6 separate regions of the Homo sapiens genome follow, and regions 1, 2, 3, 5 and 6 are each linked to region 4. Evidence: promoter capture Hi-C in 16 types of primary human blood cells and fetal thymus (Javierre and others, 2016). All regions are on one chromosome and are shown on one strand. The core of a region is centred on a gene start or on the middle of the fragment in contact, and the rest is flanking DNA. Distances in the headings are between cores, read along the strand shown. Region 1 overlaps LOC105370169 (a long non-coding RNA gene). Region 2 overlaps NHLRC3 (NHL repeat containing 3). Region 3 overlaps FOXO1 (forkhead box O1). Region 4 holds the start of COG6 (component of oligomeric golgi complex 6). Region 5 overlaps LOC105370169 (a long non-coding RNA gene). Region 6 has its middle 93 kb from the start of NHLRC3.

Region 1 (4,583 bases), core at 679-3,178, 580 kb after region 4:
GAGTAATAGAAAATATAAGAAAGGGGGCCAGGCGTGGTGGCTCACGCCTGTAATCCCAGCACTTTGGGAGGCCGAGGTGTGCAGATTACAAGGTCAGGAGCTCGAGACCAGCCTGACCAACATGGAAATCCCGTCTCTGCTAAAAACACAAAAATTAGCTGGGCATGGTGGTGCGTGCCTGTAATCCCAGCTACTCAGGAGGCTGAGGCAGGAGAATTGCTTGAACCCAGGAGGCAGAGGTTGCAGTGAGCCAAGATCGCGCCACTGAACTCCAGCCTGGGTGACAGCGAGCTGCATCTCAAAAAAAAAAAAAAAAAAAGAAAGAAGAAAGAAAGAAAGGGAAAGGAGAGAAAGAGAGAAAAGCATTGCCTGTGGTAGGCTGGGGACAGCGAAGAGCTCAGGGAGGCCAGAGAAAGACCCACCCATCCCAGCAACACTGAATCAAAAGTTCAGGTGGCTGCTTGTCAGTCAAGAAGGGATCTTTTTCAGCAGTCCCATTAGCTCTTAAGTGTCCCTGTTTGGGGAGGAAAAAGCTCCCCATGTCCCATGATCCTGTACGTGCCTAATTATGTCACCCATAGCCATCAGCAAAGAGTGCAAGGCAGATTAATCCAAAGAGAATGGCAGTTAACACCCCATAGTATCAAATCCGTTCTTAGCCAGGAGGAACTTTACTGGGAGGGGCCTCACACCCCCTACATCTTAGAAGGGACTCTAACCCTGCTAAGTTAGGCCTCAAATCCAACTTCAGTCATGCATCCTTGCCTTTTATTAAGAGAGGCCTTTAACCCACTCCATCTTAGGAGAGATTCTAACTCTCCTAAGTTGGGCCTCTAACTCTATCCCGTTTTTCACCCGGGTACACCACTACTTACCCAAAGTTAGCCAATTGGTGCTCCAGTCCATTTCCTTTGGGTCAGAAGTCTCCTCAGTATCATCCCTTTGGGGTTTGCCAGGAAGATGTTACCAGAAAGGGGTCCTGATCCAGATCCCAAGAGAGGGTTCTCAGTTCTTGTGCAAGAAAGAATTTGAGGCGAGTCCATAGAGTAAAGTAAAAACAAACTTTTTTTTTTTTTTTTTTTTTTTTTTTTTTTTTGAGACTGAGTCTCGCTTTGTTGCCAGGCTGGAGTGCAGTGGTGCGATCTCGGCTCGCTGCAACCTCTGCCTCCTGGGTTCAAGCGATTCTCCTGCCTCAGCCTCTTGAGTAGCTGGGACTATGGGCGCACACAACCACGCCCAGCTAAGTTTCGTATTTTTAGTAGAGACAGGGTTTCACCATGTTGGCCAGAATGGTCTCAATCTCTTGATCTCATGATCCGCCCGCCTCGGCCTCCCAAAGTGAACAAGCTTAATAAGAAGGTAAAGGAATGGCCACTCCATAGGCAGAGCAGCCGACCACTGATTTTAATTTTTCTTCTTTTCTTGCACAAATATTTATAGCTTTATCTTTCTAAGCACTGTTTTAATTGCGATTCACATATTTTGAAGTGCTGTATTTTCATTTACTTCACGATATTTTCTTATTCCTTTTGTGACTTTTTTTCTCTGACACATGAGTTATTTACAAATGTAATATTTACTTTCCAAATATTTGGTAATTTTTCAGATGTTATTTTATTATTGACTTCTAATCTAATTCTAATTAAATTACAAGCATATTCTGTATGCTTCCAAATATTTTAAATTTATTGAGACTTGTATTATGCCTCAGCATGTGCTCTATCTTAATGACTATTCCATATGCATTTGAAAAGAATATGTATCCTGCAGTTTTTTTGGATACAATGTTCTATAGATATCATTTTGGTCAAGCTTGATAATATTGTTCAGATCACTTACATATTTATTAAGTTTTCCTTTTGTCTAGTTGTTTTATAGATTGCTGAGAGATGGGTGTTTAAATTTCCAACTATGAGTATGGATTTGATTTTTCTTTTATTTGTCATTTTTCCCTTTAATGTATTTCTGAAGCATTATTAGTTATATACACATTTTGATTCTTAGGTCCTCCTAACACTTCATCCTTTTATCATTATAAGCTTTCTCTCTTTATCTCTGATAATATTTCTTGTTCTGTAGTCTACGTTGATAATACAATTACTTCAGCTTTCTTCTAACTACTTTTGTAATAGCATATATCTTTACATCATTTTATGTCGAACTATCTTTTCTTTATATGTAAAGTTCATCTTTTGTATACTGAATATAATTAATTTGCTCTTTCACTTTTATCCAGTATGACAGTCACTAATTTTTCATTGGGGTATTTAAACCACTTACATTTAATGTCATATTTAATACGACTGGGTTTAAGTCTAACATAATGCTGTTTTCTATTTGCCCTATCTGTTCTTTTTCCTTTTCCCCCTCTTTTCCAGTCTTCTTTTGGAATTGACAATTTGTGTAGCATTTTACCTTCTTCTACTGATTTATCACAAATACATTTTATTTCATTTTCAAATGGCTGCACTAGAATTTAAAATATTACTCTGTAAGTTGTCAGGATCTACTTTCAAATAATATACCTCTTCTCATATCCTTAAAACATGTTTTCATTTCACCATATCATCTTTTGTGATATTTTTGTTATATTTTTTACATCTACATATTATATAAATACATCAATACATTGTTTAAGTATTGCTTTAAACAATACTTAAAACTTTAGAAGAAGTTTTTTATTTTTATGCATTTTATTTTTTATTTTAGATTCAGGGGAAATATGTACAGATTTGTTACCTGGACAAATTGCATGACACCGAGGTTTGGGCATCCCATCACCCAAGTGGTGAACATAGTTCTTGATAGGTACTTCTTCAACACTTGTCCCCCTCACTTCCTCCAACTTTTGGAATCCCCAGTGTTTATTGTTCCCATCTTTGTGAACCCAATGTTTGGTTCCCACCCATAAGTGAGAACATGTGGCATTTGTTTTTCTATTTCTGTGTTAATTCACTTAGGGTGATGGCCTCCAGCTATATCCATGTGGCTGCAAAGGACATGACTTCATGAGGTTTTATGGCTGCATAGTATTCCATGGTATATATATATACACCACATTTTCTTTATCTAATCCACAATTGATGAGCACCTGAGTTGATTCCAGGTCTTTGCTATTGTAAACAGTGCTGTGATAAACATTCAAATGCAGGTTTCTTTTTGGTAGAACACTTTCTTTTCCTTTGCGCATATACCCAGTAATGAGATTGCTAGGTCAAATGGTAATTCTATTTCTAGTTCTTTGAGAAATATCTAAAGTGCTTTCCATAGGAGATGAACAAATTTTCATTCCCATCAACTGTGTATAAGCATTCTCTTTTCTCCACAACGCTGCCAACATCTGTTATTTCTTTGACTTTTTAATAATAGCCATTCTGACTGGTCTAAGATGGTGTTCCATTGTGGTTCTGATTTCCATTTCTCTGATGATTAGTGATGCTGAGCTTTCTTTTCATATATTTTTTGGCCACTTGTATGCCTTCTTTTGAGAAGTGTCTATTCATATCTTTTGCCCACTTTTTAATGGGGTTATTTGGTTTTTACTTGTTTAGTTGTTTAACTTCCTTACAGATTCTGGGTATTAGTCTTTTGTCAGGTACATCATTTGCGAATATTTTCTCCTATTCTGTAGATTGTCTGTTTACTCAATTGATAGTTTATTTTGCTGTGCAGTAGCTCTTTAGCTTAATTAAGTCCCACTTGTCAATTTTTGTTTTGCAATTGCTTTCAAGGACTTAGTCATACATTATTTGCCTAAGCCAGAAGAGTATTTCTTAGGTTTTCTTCTAGGATTTTTATAGTTTGAGGTCTTACATTAAAGTCTTCATTCCATCTTGAGGTAATTTTTGTAAATGGTGAGAAGTAGGAGTCCAGTTTCATTCTTCTGCAAGTGGTTAGCCAGTTTTCCCAGCACCATTTAATAAATAGGGTGTCCTTTCTCCATTGTTTACTTTTGTCAACTTTGTTCAAAAATCAGCTGATTATAAAGGTGTGGCTTTATTTCAGGGGTCCCCTTCTGTTCCATTGGTCTATGTGTCTATATTTGTACCAGTACCATGCTGTTTTGGTTAAGGTAGCCTTGTAGTATTGTTTGAAGTTGGGTAATATGATGCCTCTGGTTTTATTTTTTTTGCTTAAAATTGCTTTGGCTATTCAGGCTCTTTTTCAGTTTCATATAAATTTTAGAATAGTTTTCTAATTCTGTGAAGGATTGTCTTGGTAATTTGATAGAAATAGCTTTGAATCTGGAGATTCCATTGTATAGTATGGACATTTTAACAATATTGATGTTTTCAACCCATGAGCATGGGATGCTTTCCCATTTGTTTGTGTCATCTATGATTTCTTTCAGCAGTATTTACAGTTCTCCTCATAGAGAGCTTTCAACTCTGTGGTTAGATGTATTCTTAGGTATTTTATTTTTGTGTGTGTGGCTATTGTAAATGGGATTGCATTCTTGATTTGACTCTCAGCTTGAATGTTATTGTATGTAGAAATTCCACTAGTTTTAGTACATTGATTTTGTATCCTGAGGTTCTATTGAAGTCATTTATCAGGAAGAGGAGTATTTGGTGGAATCTTTA
Region 2 (4,298 bases), core at 1,767-4,266, 610 kb after region 4:
ATTCCTACATTTAAAGGCTGACTGACATTAAATATCTTATAGGTAATGGACAGAAGCCAAGTTGGGCTTTAAAAAAGGCCTAAAAGCCTATCAAAGTTTACAGTACACTTCTAACTTTTTATACCTTCTTTACTTGGAAATTATTGTTTTCTCCTCCTTGTCCCTTGGTAAGCTCCTCCTCAGTTTTCAAGTCTGAGCTCAAATTCACTTCTCCTGCGAAGTATCCATGATTCCCTCAGTCAAATGCAGCACTCCTACTCCAAAAGTCCCACTATGCTCCAAGGTCGCTTTTGCTGTGTTGTGACTGTTTGCCTGCTTGTCTCCCCACTAGACTGCAAGCTACTCAAAAGGCAATCCTGCTTTTTCATTTTTAAGTCGTCAAGACACAGCACTCTGTGGGTACTCAAATTAATCAATAGTTCATCTTATTTACAATCTCTCAAGCAGCTCATTTTATGTTAGTTGCACAATCTGGAGGTCTGGAGTTCTTCACATGAAATTTAATAAATTATCATGCAAGCTCATTTTTATTCCCATTTTTTTTACCCAGGGAGAATCAGTCTACCAGGGCAAATAATGAGGTTACCACCTTAGTCCCTCTTCCCAACCCCATTTTTTAGTTACTTTCCTTTCATTAAAATATCCTTATGCACTTACAAATAAAACTAAGTCCCAAGAGGGCAACAAAATATAAGATTCTTAATGATACAAAAACAAATCTTTCTGATACTAGATCTTTTATACTAGAAAAATAAATTCTTGTGCTTGAACATCATTTTTAAGCACTTAGTGAATTGAGAATCTGAACTGCCACTTGAAATATTCCCAGGAAAGAAACATTATGAACCAAATGAAGGAACATAGCTATTCAAAGGGACATATTTTTGTACTTGTTTTGCTCCAATTTCTGCTACATAGACTGCTCCAGTCTTTCTGTCGACTTCTAGGAGATGTGGCAAAACTTGATCTGCTAGTTGGATTGTGCTGATCACAGAACACTCCCCAATGCTTCCCACTGGGGGTGCTGCTACGACTGAGAGCCTGCTAAGATTCAGCTGGGCCACAATCAAGTACTTCCCATCAGGAGTAAACCTAAGGAGAAAGACATTTAACATAATAAATGTCTGTGAAAAAACATAAGGGTATTTTTTTTCAACATTTTAATCCCCTACTGTGCCAAACAACAGTAGGCACCTACTTGCTGAATGATTCTTTTAAGAAGAATTTTAATTTGATCTAATTCTGTTTATGAAGGAATAAGATGTCCATGATGGTAAGCAAAGCCAAAGATTAGCTTAAATTTGTTAAAAGTATCAATATCATAGTCCACAAAATGAAATTAATGAAGAATTGATGTTAGGCTGGGTTTGATTTTTGTCCTGTTTAAACATTTACCAAATAAAGGCTAGAGGAGAGGTCTAGCATATGTTATTTCTTGTTTTCACTTTACCTGGCATCTGAAAATCTTGGATATCAAATTTCTCTGTATATTTCTATTTTCCCCTAATTCAAAATTAACAATAAATATTTTAAACTTTCAGCTAGCTATTCAGAGGAAGTGAGACACATACACTAACTAAAACAAGCATTTTGCAATAAAATGAAACAATTACCTGACTGAAGAAGGTCCCTCTTCTGTGAAACAATTATTCCATGCTCCTAACCACTCCCCAGTGTCTTTATCAAATACTTGGATTCTTTTATTTCCTCGGTCAGCAACCCACACCTGAGAAACACACAAAAATGTCAATTGAAAAATATCCATGAGAAGAAAAAAGGGAAAAGAATGTTTATTTTCATTAGTTTCACCATACATTATCTCACTTAAGAGGATTCCAAAGAAGGTAGTTAAGTCCCATTTTCAGATGAGGAAAAACTAAAGTTCAGAAAGGTTGCCGTCTCTGAAGTGAGCTTACAAATGGGAGAGGCACAACCCAAAGCTGTCTTAACCCAAAGCTTATAATACTCTGTCTACTGTTCTAAATGTGTGAATAACTAAAAAGCTGGAGTACTCTACCATAATGCAGGGGATCAGTAGATAATGAAAACTGACAACATTCATTCATTCCTCTAACAAGCATTCATTTTTCAATGAGTACTACTGGCTTGTCAGCTCCTGGGCCAGGCAACATGACAAAGAAAAGCAGCCTTACTTCTCAAGAGCTCAATATAGCAGGATGTGAGGTATTCATTCAGATTGCAGTATCATTAAACCCATACCTGCTATTACCAAGGTATGTACAGAGTGCTGAACCAACTGAAGAAGCCTGAGGTATTTTAGCAACAAATAAAGAACAGTAATAGGTTTAATTTAGGTTTGTTATAGGCTGTAATGGGTTATTAAGGAACTTGTTCTAAGACAAGAAGTGAGATGCATTCTAAATGACATTTCATGGCCACATGCATGCAGCTTAAAGCATAAAGGGAAATGGTTTTTTTTATTTTTTGAGATGGAGTCTCGCTCTGTCACCCAGGCTGGAGTGCAGTGGCGCAGTCTCGGCTCACTGCAAGCTCCGCCTCCCGGGTACACGCCATTCTCCTGCCTCAGCCTCTCCGAGTAGCTGAGACTACAGGCGCCCGCCACCACGCCCGGCTAATTTTTTTGTATTTTTAGTAGAGATGGGGTTTCACCATGGTCTCGATCTCCTGACCTCGTGATCTGCCCACCTTGGCCTCCCAAAGTGCTGGGATTACAAGCGTGAGCCACCGCACCCGGCAGGAAATGGTTTTTGATGACTTGTGGCCAGGGTTGTAGAGAGGTATGAAAGAATGGACTGGGAGTGGGTCAGTCCTCTTTACTTCTACCTCCCTGCTTTTGGTCCTTTGGATTTCTTGGGTTTGTGGATTGAGAGATAATTTCTTCACAGGTAACCCTGATTACAGCTTCATCAATATGTGTGAATTTTGGTAGCCATTGAATTAATCTCCAATCAGAAACAAATCAAAACTCACTACACCATTTAAGAAAGGTTGTTGATGCCAAAGTAAAGCAATTTCTCAAGGTCTTTTCCTGATCTATGGTCCTTTAGTAAGGATAGGTTTTCTTAAAGAGTTTGAGACTAGTATCCCAGACAAATGACCAAGGAAGAAGTATAGTTTACACCCTAGGATGGAATGATACTTTAGATTGTTAGCATCATCTGTCCTGCTCAACACTCAATGAATTTTGATTATGGGAACTCCTGTTTAACACATAACAACAAGTCTGGAACTGACTAACCTTTCATATAGGGTTGTGGTGATGATTAAATGAATTAATTATGTAAAATGCTCAGAACAGAATTGCTATTGTTATAAAACACAATTTTGTATAATTGACACTCTTTATCACTCAGGAATGCCAGAGTACCCCCATCAGATGATTTCCAAGGCCTTTTAGAAGGGCGTTCCTCACCATGATGAATTTACCTGGGTCGAGGTCTCGCATGTTCTGAAATTTGATTTTTTTTCTTAGCACACAATGAGTCACCCAAGCTCAGGAGGATAATGTGCAAAAGTTTAATTCAAAGTTTCCAGTTCCCAATTTATATACAAAGTTCACATGGTTGATTAACGTCTTATGGCAGATCAGAAGATTTAATGATCAAAACATTCTCATTTTTGTCAATCAATTATGATTAGGAAGCCAAGTCATAATTAGAAGTTTGTTTGCTGAGCACTGAATCAGAAGTAGAAATGGATTAAATGCCTAATGGTATGAAGGCAAGTAGCCTAATGTACCCATTGTGTGTCAAGACATTTAGTCATTTAATAAATAAATATGACTACTGTGTACTAGGCACAAAGAAATAAAGCAAAAGAGATTCAGTAAGCACTTTCAACAGCCTGACATCTATTAGGGGAGACAGACAAATGATTATAATATAGCATGATAGTTACTATGATACGAAGTACAGGCTGCTATAGGAAAAGAGCAGGAGAAACTAATATACAAATTTTTTGGTGGCGGTTTCGTTGTGAAAAGGTAACCTCAAAGAAGTGAGATCTATGCTTAGAAATTGAGTAAATGCAAAAGAGATAGTAGTGAGTAGGGTAGAAAAGAGAGAAACTGATTGAAATTTGTTGGCTAAAGCTTTCTGTTCCCTAAACAATGTGGAGTTAGTGAGAACAAGAGTTTGCCTAGGTGACTCTTTTTCAGACTTCCAAGGTTAACCTCTCCCACTCCACTTTAGATCAGCACATTTTTTTCTTGAGAAGTGAAAAGATATTCAAACACTTTTAGTGGAGTTTTCCCAGTAAGAGGGCAACTTTTTCTTTCAGGTAACTTTATGTTCAGATCCATTATTTGTGCCTTCTAT
Region 3 (4,481 bases), core at 1,892-4,391, 1.0 Mb before region 4:
TGCTGATGAGGGGTGGGGGACAGTTAAATAAATGAAAAAGCCCACTACCGTGAGGTTTTATTAAATGTCTAAGTTACCTTCCACGTGGAGAAAATAGCTTTCAGACGCACCAGGATCTCACACTTGCATGATTGTTAATGATGTCAGGCAAAACTAGTCAAAACCAACTAGGAAACAATATGGAACTGGCCAGTCTAATTTTTTTTTTTTTTTTTTTTTGAGATGGGGTCTAACTCTGTCACCAAGCTGGAGTGCGGTGGCCCAATCTTGGCTCACTGCAACCTCTGCCTCCCAGGTTCAAGCGATTCTCCTGCCTCACCCTCCCAAATAGCTGGGATTACAGGCACACCTGTAATAGTAGAGACCACCACACCTAGCTAATTTTTGTATTTTTAGTAGGGACGGGGTTTCACCATGTTGGCCAGACTGGTCTCGAAATCCTGACCTCAACTGATCCACCCACCTTGGCCTCCCAAAGTGCTGGGATCACTGGCATGAGCCCCCACGCCCTGCCGACCACTATTGATGTTTGTAGATCCAGTGAAGTTCAGAATTACAGCACATCTTTGGTCTTTTAATTTTTGTAAGTAAAGATATTATATAAAACATCTTCATCCTTCAACTTCATTCTCATCTTGGTTCTAATTTTGAAGGGAGGGTTCCCTGAGGGTTCTTATCTCCCTCAGGGAAGGGAGGTAGATCATTTCTTTCAAGATAGCCTATCTCTGCTGACCTTAAGTCATAGGAGTTCTTTAATTCTTAGAGACCTCTGCCTTCTCAGAGGCCAGTACCACCTCTAAAGTGTCGTGGCCCCTTGGTCTACACTGCAGCACCCCTCATCTGGGAAGTGCTGTTATCTCCAGTAAGCCCCACTGTATTCTTTATACATCTCTGGCCAGCCACATATAGAAATTTCCAGGCTGTCAACTTTTTCAGTGTGACTTGGTTCCAGCATCTTGTATACAGATCTTCGAGACCTAAAAAGAAAATCTTTTTTTTCTGCGTTGATGTATTTTTCTCCCTAGATGATGTTTGTCTTTTTCTTTTTCTTCTTTTTTTTTTTTTTTGTGACAGAGTCTCGCTCTGTCGCCCAGGCTGGAGTGCAGTGACACCATCTCGGTTCACTGCAACCTCCGCCTCCAGAGTTCAAGTAGTTCTCCGTCTCAGCCTCCTGAGTAGCTGGGATTACAGGCGGCCACCACCACGCCTGGCTAATTTTTTTTTTTTTTTTTTTTTTTTTTTTTTAGTATTTTTAGTAGAGATGAGGTTTCACTGTCTTGGCTAGGCTGGTCTTGAACTCCTGACCTTGTGACCTGCCCACCTCAGCCTCCCAAAGTGCTGAGATTACAGGCATGAGCCACCGAGCCTGGTCAGATGATGTTTGTCTTAATAAAGATGTCATTCATTCTTTGAGCAGTTCCAGTTACAGAGCTGGTCCTAATGATATACCCCATGAGCTTAACAGCCCTGGAACCCCTACCTGTCTTATCTGATAAGGGCAAAACTGTGATGAGAAAGAGGGTGGAAGAGAGGGCTTCCCTTGTATGCTTTTGTTCTTTTTTGTTTCATTAAAGATATTTCTTGGATAAACAGTTTTTCTCAATTGCTGTTCTAACAGTCTGGAAAATATAGGTCATGGTTTTGTGACTCTCTACTCTTACTATGTTAGAGATATGATAAAGCATCCATGTTGAGGGAAAATATGTGTTTCTGTTTAAAACCGTGGTTTCCCCATCTTGAAGGTGTTATAGTACTGCCTTTGTAAGTACTGGTGAGTACTTACAAAGTACTTACTGGTGAGGGGCTGGGTTTTTGCTCAGTTAAAAATCTGAAAGTAGCCAAGTGAACCTGGCATCAGGAAAGGGAGGGAACCTCTGTGGTTGTATTTTGTAACTGCAGTAAAAAAGCCAATGCGCATGATTAATCCTCCTAAGTCTTATTTGGGCCTAATGAGGAAAGGAGGAAGAGGGAAACCAGTTTGCATTATGTGGGAAGATAAAGATTTCTTCAATGGTTTGGTATTCTGAAGAGTTAGCTGAGGCCGGGAGGCACTGGGCTTTGTCTCCTCAGTGTTTCGGCCCTCTCCTTTCATATTGGTTTTCCTTTTTTAATTAAAAAATTAGTGCATTTCCTCTGCGGGTACCAGGCTCAGAAGCCTGCCATGCAAGTGGCTGAGCGAAAACCCCTCTTTGAGTGAGGAATCCCCAGCACAGAATGAGAGGGTCTTCATCTTGCAGCAGTGGCAAGGGTGAGAGTGAAAAGGCACCCTGCATTCTGTACCTGAAAAGAAATGCATTTAGAGGCTGGGCGTGGTGGCTCGTGCCTGTAATGTCAGCAATTTGGGAGGCTGAAGCGGGTGGATCATGAGGTTAGGAGTTCGAGACAAGCCTGGCAACATGGTGAAACCCTGCCTCTACTAAAAACACAAAAATTAGCCAGGCGTGGTGGTGCGTGTCTGTAATCCCAGCTACTCGGGAGGCTGAGGCAGGAGAATGGCTTGAACCCAGGAGGTGGAGGTTACAGTGAGCCGAGATTGTGCCACTGCACTCCAGCCTGGGCGACAGAGCAATACTCTTGTCTTGAAGAAAAAAAAAAAGAGAAATGCACTTAGATTTCAAATTTAGTTTGGAAAGAGAAATTATAATTGAATCACCTAATTCCCAGGCTTGTAAATGTTGTGTCCTTCAAAGCTTGAAAGCAAAATAACCACATAAATATTTGGGAGTGGTTCATACAAGTAAACGTCAAATACTTGAGACATTTTGGTTGCTTGGAAGCAAGGTCAAAGGAAATGGTTTGCATATGGTTTAGCTAGAAGCTCTTATTTTGGCAGATTCTTGAGGTAGTAACGGTCACAATGTGGATTTTATTGTTCTATTTTGACATGAAAAAGGTTTTTTCTCTTCTCTAACCTTCAGGATAGAGTTGCATAAGTAACATCAAGATAGGCATGTTCAGTCACCATAATTTTGTATCAGAGATGATGTGCCTTCATGAGCTGTGAGGTTTAATTTGCAGAATCATCAGTTTGGGCCGGCACGGTGGCTCACGCCTGTAATCCCAGTACTTTGGGAGGCCTAGGCGGGTGGATAACCTGAGGTTAGGAGTTCGATACCAGCCTGGGCCACATGGCGAAACCTCGTGTTTACTAAAAATGCAAAAATTAGCCAGGCGTGTTGGCGGACCCTGGGGAGCCAGAGGTTGCAGTGAGCGGAGATCTTGCCGCTACACTCCAGCCTGGGCGACAGAGACTCCAACTCAAAAAAAAAAAAAAAAAAGAATCACCAGTTTGTTACACCAGTAGGTTTCAGCCTGCCATCATTCATACTATACTGTGATTTGAATACAGGAGAAAGTGGGCTCTCTTGAATTACAGTTACCTCATCTGTTTGCAGCAGAACTCTCTCTCTGCAGGGCTACCTCCTAAACGGGGAGTGGGGAGGGAGGAGAGGGGAACTTGCAAAACTTGTAAATATCGATTGGGGTTGTTTGTGTACTTGGCACCAAGCTGGTTGCATTGGAAACTTTTCTCTCTGGATGGGTAGGTATGTAGGCCATCATGAAATTTACATGTGGTGAATGGGAAAGCTTCCTGTGGATCATCCTACCCTGAGAGTTCTTCAATCTGTATGACTGAATTGGTCTCTCCCCTTCAACCTTTTAGGATTTAATTTTCTCTTCAGTGGCCCATTATGACATTTACATACGTTGAATTTGAAAGATTCCCATACTCCCAGTCTCTTCTGTTACCGGTGTGCCTGGAGCAGTTTGTTGAATTTGTGAAATTTTGAGATAGAATGAATTTTGTAGGACCTGAATTTATTTATAATCTTATATTTATATTATAAATATGATGTATATTTAGATGTATATTTATGTTATAAATATAATGTATATTTAGATGTATATTTGTATGTCATGTATTTGTATTAACATGAAGTCTTTCTGATGATGATAAAACACTATTTTTAAACATTTAGCAGTTGATGACTACATTTTAGAGGTCATCAAAATGTTTTATTTTTTCCTCTCTTGAAGTTATTTGGTATAATTAAAAAAATTCATACTAAGGAAATTTATCAGGGTTAAAGATTCCTGTAATTAGGCATGTTTTGATGTTATTGATATCCTCTTTTCTGGTTTTGGAGTGGATACTTTCCCTGCTGTGACCTCTGTGCTCTGTAGTGGTTCTCCTAGGGAATTATATTCCAGTAATTCTGGGTATTTCTTTAAGGTGCTTTGTATTTCTTGAAGTGCCATTTTGATACTTTCAGTGTTCTGAACTGTACCTAGAACGTACTTTTTATAAAAAGGAAGCAGAGTCCATCCAGGCAGAGAGAGTACTGTGTGCCTGTAGTCTTGTCTATTCGCAAGGCTGAGGCCAGAGGATCCCTTGAGCCCAGGAGTTCAAGTCCAGGCTGGGCAACACACTGGGACCATGTTTCTTAAAAAAAAACAAAAACAAAAAACAAAAAACAAAA
Region 4 (4,614 bases), core at 872-3,371:
GAATGGAAGAGAGAGCAGAGAACCAAGCCCAGGACATCCCCATTGTACACTAAATTCTGCAGATATACATTTCTACACCTCCACTACTGTATATTCTAGTAGGCTTACCCTTTCATGTTTCTATTTGTTATTTTGAAATATTGGCTGGATTGACAAAAACAGTAAAACTATTTATATAAATTCAATTTAATATTTCAGAGGAAGCAAAAATATGTTTACAACTATAAATACTTACTGTACAGAAAAAAAAAACCCATGAAGTGAAGCAGTTTCTTTAGACTATAGCCTTGAAATGTCCTAAGGTCTGGTTCAAAGAAGTAATCAGTAATGTTGAACGAATGAAATCACAGACTCAGATGCAAATTACAGTTCCACCAGTTACTAGTTATATGACAACCTAGCTGCACTCTCTCCATGCTTTATTTTCCTCATGGTAAAAAGAAGGTTATGTGGCCGGGCGCAGTGGTTCACGCCTTGTAATCCCAGCACTTTGGGAGGCTGAGGCGGGCAGATCACCTGAGGTCAGGAGTTCAAGACCAGCCTGACCAACATGGAGAAACCCCGTCTCTAATAAAAATACAAAATTAGCCAGGCGTGGTGGCACATGCCTGTAATCCCAGCTACTTGGGAGGCTGAGGCAGGAGAATCGCTTGAACCCGGGAGGCAGAGGTTGCAGTGAGCCGAGACTGCGCCCATTGCACTCCAGCTTGGGCAAAAAGAGCAAAACTCTGTCCAAAAAAGAAGGCCATGTTATCTATATCAGAGCAAGTAGCAGTCTTAAATGATATAATAAATATCAATATGAGACACATTAAACACTTCATAAATTTTATGATAAAATTAATATTTGTTAAGAAAGAGTAAGTGCCAGGCTCTTTGCAAAGGACTTTACCTGGAGTCTCTCACTGAGTCCTCAAATAACAACCATGAGAAACTTAACAGCAGGATTCCTAATTCCTAAACAGAAGCTGAGATTAGTGAAGGGACTTACTCAAATCATGATGCACACATTTAGTGGTTCTATCTAATAAGTGGTAGTCTCCAGAGCCCTAATTTCTTATTCATTACATTGCAATGTTATTTTTTTACATATCGGAATCAAATTGTTATCGACAGCTTATTTTCAGTTACCTACATATTCACCTATAAAACTCTCTAACTTTGACATATGTTCTTCTTTATGTTACACTGTCATGACCAATTTACCTAGCGACCCACAGAGACAGAAGAGATGGCTGGGTATGTGAGGAGCTGTAAAGTCCAACTTAAGTTTCAGGAGGTACTTGTGAGAGCATGCTGTCAGTTTATCTTCTAAAGAAATACAGCCTGAGCCCACAAATCATAGCGCTTGGCTCAACAAAAACTAGTAGATATGAGTTCATTTCAGCCACGGGCAAAGGTAGTTCTTTCGCGCTGCAAATTATTGCAATTGTTGTCACTTGTCCGTGGAAATGCACCCTTATCCCTACCACTGCTCTCTTGGTCTCCCGACCCCCATTTGCGCTACCTTATCTTGGAATCTGCTCTTTTGCATCTGTTTCATATCCAGTCTTGTGCTCTCCTCCACTCTCCCAGCTCACACAGCCAAACGCCTCCAGGGGTGTTTGGAGGACACTTCTCGAGGCACCACCGTTCACCAATCCCATCCAGAGAGCCTTGAAGGCACCTTTTCAGGTGGAGAGAACACCCAGGAAACCCCTTCGCTTTTCCGGAGGTTGCTGGGGCTCCCCCTTCTCACCGCCCCCGGCGCCCGCAGAGCAGCGGAGCCCGCAGGTCTGGGGTCACTCGCGGTCCCTCTGCTGCCGGGACGAGGGAGACCGCGGTGGGTCCCTGACAGACGCCGCCCCTGGCCCGGCTCAGCCCCGCAGGAACCTGTGACTCCGGCCCCGCCAGCCCCGGTTACCTTGTCGTTGTCCAGCCGCGTCTCCAGGATCTTATGCAGCTTGCGCGACAGCGGGTTGCAGGTCGTCGCCGAGGTCCCGCCTGCCCCATTGTTGAGGCCGTTGGCAGCCCCGGTCGCAGACACTGCGACCACTTCCCCGCTGCCCTCTGCCATAGCGCTGCGCGTCCCGCCCCCTGCTGCCACCTCAGCCAGGCAGGGACCACGGAGGCAGCGCGAGTATTGCGCATGTGCAAATCGGCCGCGCATGCGCATCGGCCCCGGAAGTCTTCGCCGGGTAACCCTGCTTGGGCTCTCAGAAGCGTGAGGGGCGGAGAAGATGTGGGGGGCGGGACAAGACCCTCAGGTAGAAGGAGAAAATTTATAGGATTAGAGAGGACTTTGGAATTATGGATCTGCGACCTTCAGAGCTAATTAGATGACAACCAAATGTAGTATGTAAAATACACCATGACTTGTGCCTGGCATATACATTCAATATAAGTTAACTGAAAGTTTAAATTACATTTGCCTTATCTGAATTCATTTTTTTGAAAATTATTTATTGAAGGCATAGTATGTGCCAGGTACTCTGGTAGGCATTGGAGAATCTACATTGTGTGTCTGAAACAGACAAAGCTGTTAATAGATGTTATTAGGTTGTGATGAGTGCTCAGGGGATGAAGTAGTACAGTGAAAGAAAATGGAGGGAAAGGCCCACTTCACTCAGGGAGGTTTGGAGAGGAGTTGACACTTAAACTGAGATTTGAAGGAGAATCAGAATGTGAGGAGAAATCATTCCCAGGCAGAAGAAAGTGTGTAAGTGTACAGGCCTCAAAACAAGATGAACTTGGCCCTGACACAAATGGACCAGAGCCCATGTAGCTGTAAAGTAATGGATAAAAATGTAACAAGTTGAAAAAACTTCCCGGGAAACTCTGGAAAACAAACATCATTGCTTTTTTTCTTTCTTTTCTCAGTTTTTAAAATTTGGATCAAAATAAAATCGCTGGGCTTCTGTGAATTATTTGTCAGAAACACTATTTGGCTCTTGTCATAAATTTTCCTTGTTTCATATATGTCTATGTACATAGTTATATTGTATATCAGACTTAAGGGAAAATTACCTATTACAGAGGTCACATAAAGAAAGCACTGACAAAACCACTCATCTCTACTCTAATGAAGAAGAGAAGGCCCAACTATCCAAAAGAAAAAAATATACAAAAAGCAGCAATATCTAGGTATGAATTCAACAAAAAATACAGAGAACCTAGATGAAGAAAACTTTAAAATGCTACTGGGAGAACATAAAACTTAAATCAATGAAAAAATATATTGTTCTCTTCAACAGGAAGACTCAATATTGTAAGATGTCTTTTCTCTTTCACAGATAAATTTAAGTTCAGTGTAACCAAAATTAAAATATCAAAGGTTTACCTAAGGTGTATATATCCAAATGAATTTGCATATATACAAAGCAATAATATAATGTAGAGCTTGCAAATATGTACAATTAAAAGGAATGACGATGATAACATGCCAAGTCAGGAGCGGTCATGAAATACCACATATTGTATGACCTCTTTATGTGAAATCTCCCAAATAGGTAAATCAATAGAGATAGAAAGTAGATGAGTGGTTCTGGGAAGAGGAGTGTTGGGAAGAGGGAATGGGGAGTGTCAGTTCATGGTACAGGTTAATTTTTGGGGAGATGAAAATACTCTAAAGCTAAATTGTGGTGATGGTTGCACAACTCTGTAAATATACTAAAAAACACTGAACTGTACACTTTAAATGAATGAATTGAATGGCATGCAAGTTTCATCTCAAATCTGTTTTTTAGGCCAGGTATGGTGGCTCACACCTGTATTCCCAGCACTTTGGGAGGCTTAGGCAGGGGGATCTCGAGTTCAGGAGTTAAAGACCAGCCTGGGCAACATAGCGAGACCCTGTCTCTACAAAAAAAAAAAAAAAAATACGAAAACTAGTCGAGTGTGGTGGCATGCCTGTGGTCCCAGCTACTTGGAAGGTTGAGGTGGGAGTATCACTTGAGCTCAAGCCTGCGGTAAGTCATAATCATGCCACTGCCCTCTACTCTAGCCTGGGTGATGGAGCAAGGCCCTATCTTAAAATTGAAAAAAAAAAAATAAAGCTGTTTATTTTAAAAAGTAAATTGGAGATAAATAGACAAAATGTTTAAGTAATAAAAAATACAAATTTATATTAATTTTTAAAATCTTTATTTAGATATAATTTACAGGCCATAAACTTCACCTATTAAAAGTATAAAATATGACAGCTTTTAGTTCATTTACAGAGTTGGCAAATATCACCATCATCTAATTTTAAGACATTTTCATTACTTTAAGAAGAAAACTGTACCCACTAGCACTCCCCATTTTCCCCTCTCTACCACCCTAGGAAACCACAAATCTGCTCTCTGTCTCTATAGATATGCCAGTTTGGACATTTCATATAAACAGAATTATACAATATGTAACATTTCATGCCTGACTTCTTTCACTTAGCATAATTTTTCAAGGTTCATCTATTTTGTAGCTTGTATCAGTGTTTCATTCCCTATTATTGCCAAATAATAATCCATTGTATGGATCTCCCATATTTTATTCATTCGTCAGATGGCTATTTAGGTAGTTTCAAATTTTTGGCTTTTATGAAAAATGTCTCTGTGAATTTTCATGTGAGAGTTTTTGTGTGGATGTATGTTTTCA
Region 5 (4,669 bases), core at 2,093-4,592, 590 kb after region 4:
TGAGATCGCACCGCTGCACTCCAGCCTGGGTGATACAGCGAGACTCCCATCTCAAAAAACATAAAAAAGTCAACAAAACAAAACAATGTGGTACTAGCATAAAGACATACAAATAGACCAATAGAAAAGAACACTGAGTACAGAAATAAACCTTCACGTATATAGCCAAATGATCTTCAACAAGGGTGCCATGAATACACAGTGGGGAAAAGGATAGCTTCACTGACAAATGGTGCTGAGAAACTGTATCTCCACATGCAAAAAAATAAAACTGCACCTTTGCCTTACACCATATACAAAAATTAACTCAAAGTAGATTAAAGATATAAACATTAAGACCTAAAACCAGGCCAGGCACAGTGGCTCACACCTGTAATCCCAACACTTTGGGAGGCCAAGGCGGGCGGATCACTTGAGCTCAGGAGTTTGAGACTAGCCTGGGCAACATGGCAAAACCTGGTCTCTACAAAAAAAATACAAAAGAAAAAAAAAATTAGCCAGGCATGGTCGCATGTGCCTGTAGTCCCAGCTACTGATTAGGGGTGCTGAGGTGGGAGGATCACCTATGTCTGGGAGGCAGAGGTTGTAGTGAGCCTGGATCATATTACTATACTCCAGCCTCAGCAACAGAGCCAGACCCTGTCTCAAAACAAAACAAAACAAAACAAAAAAAAAAACAAAAAAAGGCCTAAAACCATAAAACTCCAGAAGAAAACATAGGAGAAAAGCTTTATGACATTGGTTTGACAATGATTTTCTGGATATGACACCAAAAGCACAGGCAATGAAAGCAAAAGTAGACAGATGGTATGGCATCAAACTTTAAAACTTGTGCACATCAAAGGAAACAATTAACAGAATAAAAATAGGCAACCTATGGAATTAAAGAAACTAATGGCAAATCATATATCTGATAAGCGGTGAATATCTAGAATATATAAAGAACTTTCACAACTGAATAACAAAAAAACAAGTAACGTGATTACAAAGTAGACAAAGGACCTGAATAGATATTTCTCCCAAGAAGACATACGAATGGCCAACAAGCACATGTAAAATACTCAACATTACAAATTATTAGAAAAATGTGAAGCAAAACCACAGTGAGATATCAGGACATACCCATTAGGATGGCCACTGTCAAAACCCAGAAAATAATAAATGTTGATGAGAATGCAGAGGACCCTTGTGCACTACTGGTGAGATTATAAAATAATGGAGCAGCTGCTGTGGAAAACAGGATGGTGGTTCTTCAGAAACTTAAACATAGAATCACCATGTGATCCAGCAATCCCACTTCTGGGGTATAAATCCAAAAGAAGTGAAGGCAGAATCTTGAAGAAATGTTTGCACACCCATGTTCACTGTAGCATTATTCACAATAGCCAAGAGGCAAAAGCAGCCCAAATGTCCGTCGACAGATGAATGGATAAAAAATAATTGGCATATATATACAGTAGAATATTATTCATCTTTTTAAAATAAGAAAATCCTGTTATATTCTACAACATGGATGAACCTTATATGCTAAGTGAAATAAGCCAGTCACAAAAGGACAAATACTGTATGATTACACTTATATGTAATATCTAGAGTAGTCAAAATCATGGAAATAGTAGAATTGTGGCTGACAGGGAATGCAGGGAGGGGGAATAGGGAGTTGTTCTATGAATATAGAGTTTCAGTTTGTAAAGATGAAAGAGTTCTAGCTATCTGCTATTCAACAATGTGAATACTGTTAACACTACTGACCTGTATACTTAAAAATGGTTAAGATGGTAAATTATATATTATTTGGTTTTTACCAAAATTAAAAAATAAAGCCAAAAAACCTCACTGCCTGGCATGGGGCATCTGTTAAAAAAAAATAAAAGGAATAAACTTTCTCCTCCTCAAGCCTGATAACGTGGCTTTACAATCAGATATAAGAAGCGACTACAGAAACAACTAAATGTTTTATAATTACTCAAGAATAAGGAGTCCAATATTAATCATGCCAAAACAAAACCTACTGAAAAAGAGGGAGGAGATTTTTTTCTAAAGTTCAAATGAAAAAAAAAATACTGAATAACTCATTCGTAGGGTGATTTGTTCAGTTACCTACATTTTTGTAGCTAACTCAGTCTGGGTGTTACTCAAAATTAGGTCACCTTGTAAAAGCAAAGTGTGTAGAAGACACCACCTTCTCTTAATTTTTTCTTGGTTAAAATTACCTCAATAGGGACTGAGTAGGTAAAGATGTGTGTTGTTTATAGTCTGGCATGGTAGTTCAGAAACTCAGTTTGGTTTGGATCCAAAATGACTTTTTAGAAATTCCTGATCTTCCCCATCTGCTGCCATCCCCTTGGGCTCACATCCACACACACAAAAAAATGTAAAATCCAAACACCCAGAACTCCAAATTTCTAAGCATGAAGGTCACATTGGATAATACATTACATTAAAGGGTTGGCAGAAGGCAAATTACACAAATGAACAGGGGAATTCAGTGAAAACAAATGATTTATCATCATTATGAAAATCTAGTCACCTACTAAGCTATCCAATATAGTAGCCAATAGCCACATGAGACAATTTAAATTAATTAGAAATATGGTAGAAAATTCAGTTCCTCAGACACACAAGCTACATTTCAAGTGTCTAAAACCATATGAGCTAGAGGCTACCCTATTGAACAGCAGAGATACAGCATATGACATATATGTATAAGATATGAAATATATGATATATTATCACCATCACTTCTATTGGAGAGCTGAAAACTAGGCATCCAGTCCGTGGTGTGCGTGCCAAATATGAATGCTTACTGAGTTACTGATTTAAATACCTCATCACCTTTTTACGTCATTCTTGACTTTTCATCACATAAAAAAGTGAACATTTCTTTCTGTTATATTACATTTTTGTTTAAGATATGTTGTTTTGTTTCACTGACAAGGATCCATGGAATGAAAATAGAAAATATTTTGTGGAGGGAGGGGGACAAGATGTCTGACTTGATGCAACTAGGAAGTGCCTCTCCCACCAAGAGAAACCAAAATATCAGGTAAACCATCACGTTTCAAACAGATCTCTTGAGTGGAAAAACTGAGTGCTGACAGAAGGGTGATACAGACATTGAGGTGGAAGAGGGAGGAAGTTGGGAACCCTACATGGAGTTGCCAAGCACTGGGACCAGCTCCAGACCTTAAACAGGTCTTGAGGAAGGGGTGAGTGAAAGAACTGCAAGGCAACACTCTCCTGCTGTGGACCTCCAAGATCCTAGCTGCAAGAGCTCCCACCACCCTTACAGATATTTGGATTGGCAAGGGGAGCTGCCCAGAGAGTAGACAGAGGCAGAGTTTGAGCCTGCACGGAGCCCAGAAGGTTTTGCGGGGGGCAGCTACAGCAAAACACGACCATCAACAACCATCTCCCTGTGGCTCTAACCTCTGCTGACTGCCAAGGCCAGGAGAGAGCAGGGCTATCTTTCCCATGGGACCAGGGTGACTCTAATCTGCCACGCCCCCTTCTCTGCCAGCCCCTCCCAAGTCTTCCGGCTGGCTGCTCCCACAAAAGCATACACATAGCACAGCTTCCACTGCCCCTCCTGAGTGCTTTGCTGGTGGCCTGGGAGCACTTCGGCCCCCCTGCATAGCCTGTGCTCAACCCTAAGAGGTCAGAGGACAAAGCCACAGGTCCAGTCCCAATCCCCCAGAGTTCGGACACACAGCTGAGGAATATCCAACTGAGATCTATGGCCAGAGCTAGATTGGGGTAAGAGCCCCTACTCTCCAAACACTGAGAAGTATAAGGTGTGGGTTTGTGGGCTGGAGCAGGAGCAGAACGTGCTTCCCTCTGCAAGACCAGCCAGGGAAAGGTGTAGCCTGTTTGTCAGCCAAAGCCTCTGCCAGAAGGAGCCCCATGGCCCAGAACAACCAACAGCCCAGCAATCTGTGTGCAGGTGGAGTGAGACAAAACTAGCTGGTCATGCCAGCTACTAGGATAGACACCGTAAGGAGATCCCGTTGTGGGAGCACGAGTGGAATGGTCCCCACAGCCATCTGCTAGGAAAAAAAACCCAAGCTGCAGTCACCACACCAGCTGCATACCCACAGCAACACTGCCCTGCCCAGGGATCCTCACCCTTGACCTACTGCATCAAGGGGGCACCTGTTGACATATCCCACAACCTGCTCTGACTCTGCCAAGCACAGAGGACCAGTGGGTCCCCAAGGACCTGCGGGTCTCCTGGTGACCTAAACTTTGGCTTGGGTGACACTAAGGGAAGGGAGAACACAGCCTACCAGCACCCCACTTTGGGACTAAGAAAATGTAAGCATGGCACCAGTGACTGGAGGGGGCTCTCCAAGACCCAGGAATGGATTTGGTGAGGTTATCTCTTGCCAACCCCCGTCTAACTCACCCCAGAGTACTGCTGCGAATGCACCAAAATATAAGAGGCGTGTGACTAAGAGCCTATCTACCAGCCCTTACTCTTTTCAAAAAATAGTCTTTTTTATCAGCTTACATCATGCTTTTTCTTTTTTAACAAATTTTTTTAATTAAAAATGTTTTTTATTTGCCCTTACTCTTAAGTGCCACGTACTAGATCACAGCCTTAATTAAACCACCAAACATAAATTCTTTCACCATACATCACCAGTGAAACCCAATGCAGGAATCTAGC
Region 6 (4,138 bases), core at 924-3,423, 520 kb after region 4:
ATACAAAAATTAGCTTGTGTAGCACATGCCTGTAGTCCCAGCTACTTGGGAGGCTAAGGCAGGAGAATCACTTGAACCCAGGAGGTAGAGGTTGCAGTGAGCGGAAATCACACCACTGTACTCCAGCCCGGGCACCCAGAGCAAGATTCTGTCAAAAAAAAAAAAAAAGAGAGAGAGAGAGAGAAGCTACAAACAGGGCTGAAAGTCTCCCAGCAGAAGAGGCCCAACATTGAGCTCAGGGGACTCTGTGTTGGGTTGTTACATTGGGTGAGTCCTGCTAAATGAGGTGGAATTTGCCTGAAAATTCCAAATCTCACTCCATACTTCTCAAAAGGAGCTCAGGTATTTGGTGCAATAATAGATTATATTTTCGTGTGAATTACTTTCCAAATTTATCCCAGGGCCTTGAGCACTGGAGGGTGTGTCTGTGAGTGCAACAGGCAAAATGGTACCTAATAAGCCATTCTATCATCTCGGGACTATGAGGACAATATAAAGTTATCTGCTGAGCAATGAGCCGTGTCCAGGAACTATTGGTCAGTGGTAATGGTCATAGGGTTTGGCCTCTGTGCTAATAGATGCAAAGCTTCCCTGCATACAGTACTCTGGTGACAACTGATTTATGGTGTCCACAAAGAAGCTTCTCTAATTAGTACCAGAAGCATCCTGCAGTATCCTGAATGCTCTGGAAGAGGCCTGCTGTGTAAAACTGTCCCCTGAAATGATGGCATTGTCCTCTATTTGTGGTGTCATTAACACGTTAAAATAAAACTCTTGACAGGTATTTTTGTTTCATGACTAAGAGTTGATAGCTTTGTGAATTGCAGTATGTTTTTATGAGAACACATAACTCACTGGGATATGTGCTGTAGAGCTGCTTCTTCCATGAGGCATGGACTGAGGAGGTCAGACAGAGACATAGACAGAAACACCCCTGCTTGCCTAAAGCCACTCTGTAGTTGAAATGCTCCACATGAAGCTGGAGACAAACTTCTCCTGGCTGCCATCTGCTTTCAGCCCTCTCTACTGGCAGCTGAGAAGTAATGGCAGAAGAAGCACACATTGAAAGCAAGACATCTATTATAATCTCCTGTCCTAGCTCTTGAAAGAGTGAATAGCTAATAAAATGATCAAAGGTGCTTTGATATGACTCATTCTGGCTTACATGGCTGACTCCTTTTACAACTGCTGAGATGATTCAAAGGCTGATCTCTCTTCGAGGTTCTGCAGAGAGGCTCTTCAGAGGGAAATAGAATCTGAAAACTTTCTCAAATGCATTCCAAGTTTAAAAAACAAACAAGGTTTGGAAAAAAATACTGAGTGGAAAAAAAAATGAATTGCCTTAAAAAGTCATTTTCTCCTAAAATTGGCTTGCGAATTACCCTAATTATTCATGAGATGATGGCTGAAAACGACTAATTTTCAAAAATGCATAACTTAGAAACCCATTCTTCTCTTTTACCTATATTTATGCTAATTGAAGAGGTTATTGATTATAGAAAAAGTAACTTCAATTACTTCTAGAGAATAGTTTTATTTCTCAGGTTGAAAAAACTAACATTTTAATTTTTAGATTAATAATACATAACTTAAGATGCATTTAGAATCTAGGCAAGCCAACATACTGATTGGTTTATCAACAACAATTCTAAGTGGTGCCATAGAATTATGAATAAAATTGAATTGAGCTTCAGCACATAGACATAGCAGTTGAAAATTGTAACAATCTCTGATCCACACTACATTAGAGTAGGGAGTGGCTGGTAATTTGCCTCAGTAGTTCATGAACAATGCTGGGGAGAAGGGTGCCTAGAGTTGGCCAGAATATCTGGCATGAGTGACCCCACGGGTGGAAGGCAATAGTCAACCATATCAACTTTTGCCCTACCTTTGTAACCTTAAGGAAGGTAATTTATTCTATCTCTTTCCTTGACAATATTTTTCCCACCTTTTATGGTCCTTTCTATATACAGGACAATGAAAGTAATGAGGGAGGTATAGATAGTGTTTCTCACATTTATCTCTGGTGTAATCTTTCTCCTGACTTTCAGACCCTTTTTCTAAGGCCTCTGAGGAAATTCTCTAGAAGAATAACAGGAATTCTAAAACCTGCATCTTCAGACTGAATTCATGATCATCTCTCCCCTGTAATTGACTCTTATTTTTTAATTAACTTAATAGCTCAATTAGATACCACTGAATCATCCTGATTCTTTCTTCTCTCTCTCTCTTCCTGGATCCAGTCACTGCATTTTTCTTAAATTCTTCCTCCTCTCTCATACCTACTATCACTGACTTGGTTAAAGTCCTTAGTATTTATTTTGTTCATTTGCTGAGCTTTTGTGGGGGCTAGGCACTAATATTAATGAACTCACATCTTTGTTTTATAAATTCTCAGTATCTACAAATGTGGCAGAAACTGTACTAAGCAATGACGATATAGAGCTGAAAGATACTAGCCCAACCTTATAGATCTGGCTAAAAAGAAATATTCAAATAAGTGGAAAAAAAGGTGTGCTCTCTATTAAGTCTAATTGGTAGAAAACAAGCAGTGGGGGTGCAGAATCAGGAAATATTTGAAAATATTTATGCCGGGGTTTACGTTTACGTTAGGATTTTGAAGGATGAGTAGAAGTTAGCTTGGTAAAGAAGTAAAAAAGATATTCCAAGCAAAGGGGATGGTATGTACAAGGCATAGGCACAGAAAAAAATCACAGCAAGTTTATACAACTGTGAGCAGTTTTGCAGAGCTGAAGGATAAGGAAATAAAGAAAGTGGTAGGAATATTGTAAAAGACATTGAAAGATTTTTAGAATGTGGGATGGTCTTAAAATATGTCAGTGAATTTTTTCACAGTCCTCCAAAGGTGGTTCCTAATTCCCCAACCCTTGAATGTGAACCAAACTTAATGACTCACTTCTAACGAACAGAATGTGGCACAAAGTGATGCTACGTGACTTCTGAGGCTAAGTCATAAAAAGGTTGGCTTCGGCATGGCTCTTTCTCTCCTGGGTGCTCGCTGCAGAGAAAGCCAGTGTCATGCTGTGAGAACACTCAAGCAGGCTAAGAGAGGACCATGTGGTGAGGAACAAAGGCCTCCTTCAATAGCCAGCATCAAGTCGCCAGCTACAGGAGGGAGCCACCTTGGAGGTGGATTTTCCAGCTCCATTCAAGCCGTTAGATGACTGCAGCCCCACGTGACAGCTTCATTGCAATCTCGTAAAAGACCTTTAGCCAGAAATACCCAGCTAAGCAACGCCCAAAGTCCTGATGCATGAAAACAATGAGATTAGTAAATGTTTCTTATTGTGTTAAGTAACTAAGTTTTGGGATTCTTTTGTGTGTAACAAGTTGTCTTGGATAACCAAGACAAAACAAGAGTGATGTGATTAGACATGTTTCATGAAACTTTTGTGGCATTGTGAACTATAGGGAAATTATTGGAGTGGAGGTAGAATGAAGGCAGTTGAATAAGTTAGGTCTGTCACATGAATTAGGTAGGGATGTGACATGGACCTGAACTAAGGCCTTGGCTTTAGGATTAAAGAAGAGTGAAAAACGTTTGAGAGATTTAGGGAGGAAAAAGCAACAAAATTTAATGAATTTGTGAGGGATGAGAGAATAGAAAGCACAGGAGATGGGGAGATCACTTACGATAACGGGGAATAAAGAAGGAAAAGCAAATCAGGTGAGGAAATAAGCTTAGTTTTTAGTTTTGAATGTACTGAGTTTGATGTGCCTGTGGAAAATCAAAATGATGTCTTAGTAGAGGTGTGTGTGTGTGTGTGTGTGTGTGTGTGTGTGCATGTGTGTGTGTGTGGATACAAAAACAATCTCTACCCTAGGAAAGGAAAATGGGCTGAAAATAAATCAAAGGAGAGTGGAGAGTGTAATATAAGTTGGCAAATGGTAGAACATTAGATCACTTCAACATTTAATGATAGAAAAGGATACAGGGAGCAGGGGTGTGAAAGATTCAACAACAACAACAAAAATTAAAGTGGAGAGAAAGCATAAAAACCCAAAAGGGAGAGAATCCAAAGAAAAGGTGGACAGTGAGCCAACAGAGATAAAGACTAATAGTTGTCTACTCTACTGAGCAACCAGGAAGTTACCGGTAAATTTGACCATGGCAGAT

What was found. The method cuts DNA at HindIII sites, captures the fragments that hold promoters and counts their contacts. A CHiCAGO score of 5 or more calls a contact.
Region 1: a fragment that was not itself captured here is called in contact with the fragment with the promoter of COG6 in region 4 in 1 of 17 cell types (endothelial precursors); the score reaches 6.4 in endothelial precursors.
Region 2: a fragment that was not itself captured here is called in contact with the fragment with the promoter of COG6 in region 4 in 14 of 17 cell types (megakaryocytes, erythroblasts, M0 macrophages and 11 more); the score reaches 11.1 in megakaryocytes.
Region 3: a fragment that was not itself captured here is called in contact with the fragment with the promoter of COG6 in region 4 in 1 of 17 cell types (fetal thymus); the score reaches 5.4 in fetal thymus.
Region 5: a fragment that was not itself captured here is called in contact with the fragment with the promoter of COG6 in region 4 in 8 of 17 cell types (megakaryocytes, M1 macrophages, M2 macrophages and 5 more); the score reaches 8.2 in megakaryocytes.
Region 6: a contact is called between a fragment that was not itself captured here and the fragment with the promoter of COG6 in region 4, in 2 of 17 cell types (endothelial precursors and M2 macrophages). The highest score is 5.6, in endothelial precursors.

Annotation. Positions count from the first base shown.
Region 1 is chr13:39,077,656-39,082,238 of GRCh38, reverse strand. It overlaps LOC105370169 (a long non-coding RNA gene), which reads right to left. Exons shown (of 5, transcript NR_187783.1): 2 at 876-979. Among named protein-coding and RNA genes, the nearest start is that of NHLRC3, 41 kb to the right of the region's middle. The HindIII fragment of the contact is 227 bases long and covers 1,815-2,041 here.
Region 2 is chr13:39,044,468-39,048,765 of GRCh38, reverse strand. NHLRC3 (NHL repeat containing 3) reads right to left here. Exons shown (of 7, transcript NM_001012754.4): 6 at 1,614-1,726; 7 at 1-1,092. The coding sequence ends at 840. Among named protein-coding and RNA genes, the nearest start is that of NHLRC3, 8.2 kb to the right of the region's middle. The HindIII fragment of the contact is 2,116 bases long and covers 1,959-4,074 here.
Region 3 is chr13:40,651,087-40,655,567 of GRCh38, reverse strand. The region is part of intron 1 of FOXO1 (forkhead box O1); the gene reads left to right. Among named protein-coding and RNA genes, the nearest start is that of FOXO1, 13 kb to the left of the region's middle. RefSeq lists enhancers at 2,811-3,331, 3,332-3,853. The HindIII fragment of the contact is 898 bases long and covers 2,693-3,590 here.
Region 4 is chr13:39,653,169-39,657,782 of GRCh38, reverse strand. COG6 (component of oligomeric golgi complex 6) reads right to left here and starts at 2,121. Exons shown (of 19, transcript NM_020751.3): 1 at 1,904-2,121. The coding sequence starts at 2,056. RefSeq lists a silencer at 1,808-1,857. The HindIII fragment of the contact is 8,496 bases long and covers 1-4,614 here.
Region 5 is chr13:39,061,666-39,066,334 of GRCh38, reverse strand. All of the region lies in intron 1 of LOC105370169 (a long non-coding RNA gene), which reads right to left. Among named protein-coding and RNA genes, the nearest start is that of NHLRC3, 26 kb to the right of the region's middle. The HindIII fragment of the contact is 5,224 bases long and covers 731-4,669 here.
Region 6 is chr13:39,129,487-39,133,624 of GRCh38, reverse strand. No RefSeq gene overlaps it. Among named protein-coding and RNA genes, the nearest start is that of NHLRC3, 93 kb to the right of the region's middle. RefSeq lists an enhancer at 2,818-3,339. The HindIII fragment of the contact is 3,061 bases long and covers 643-3,703 here.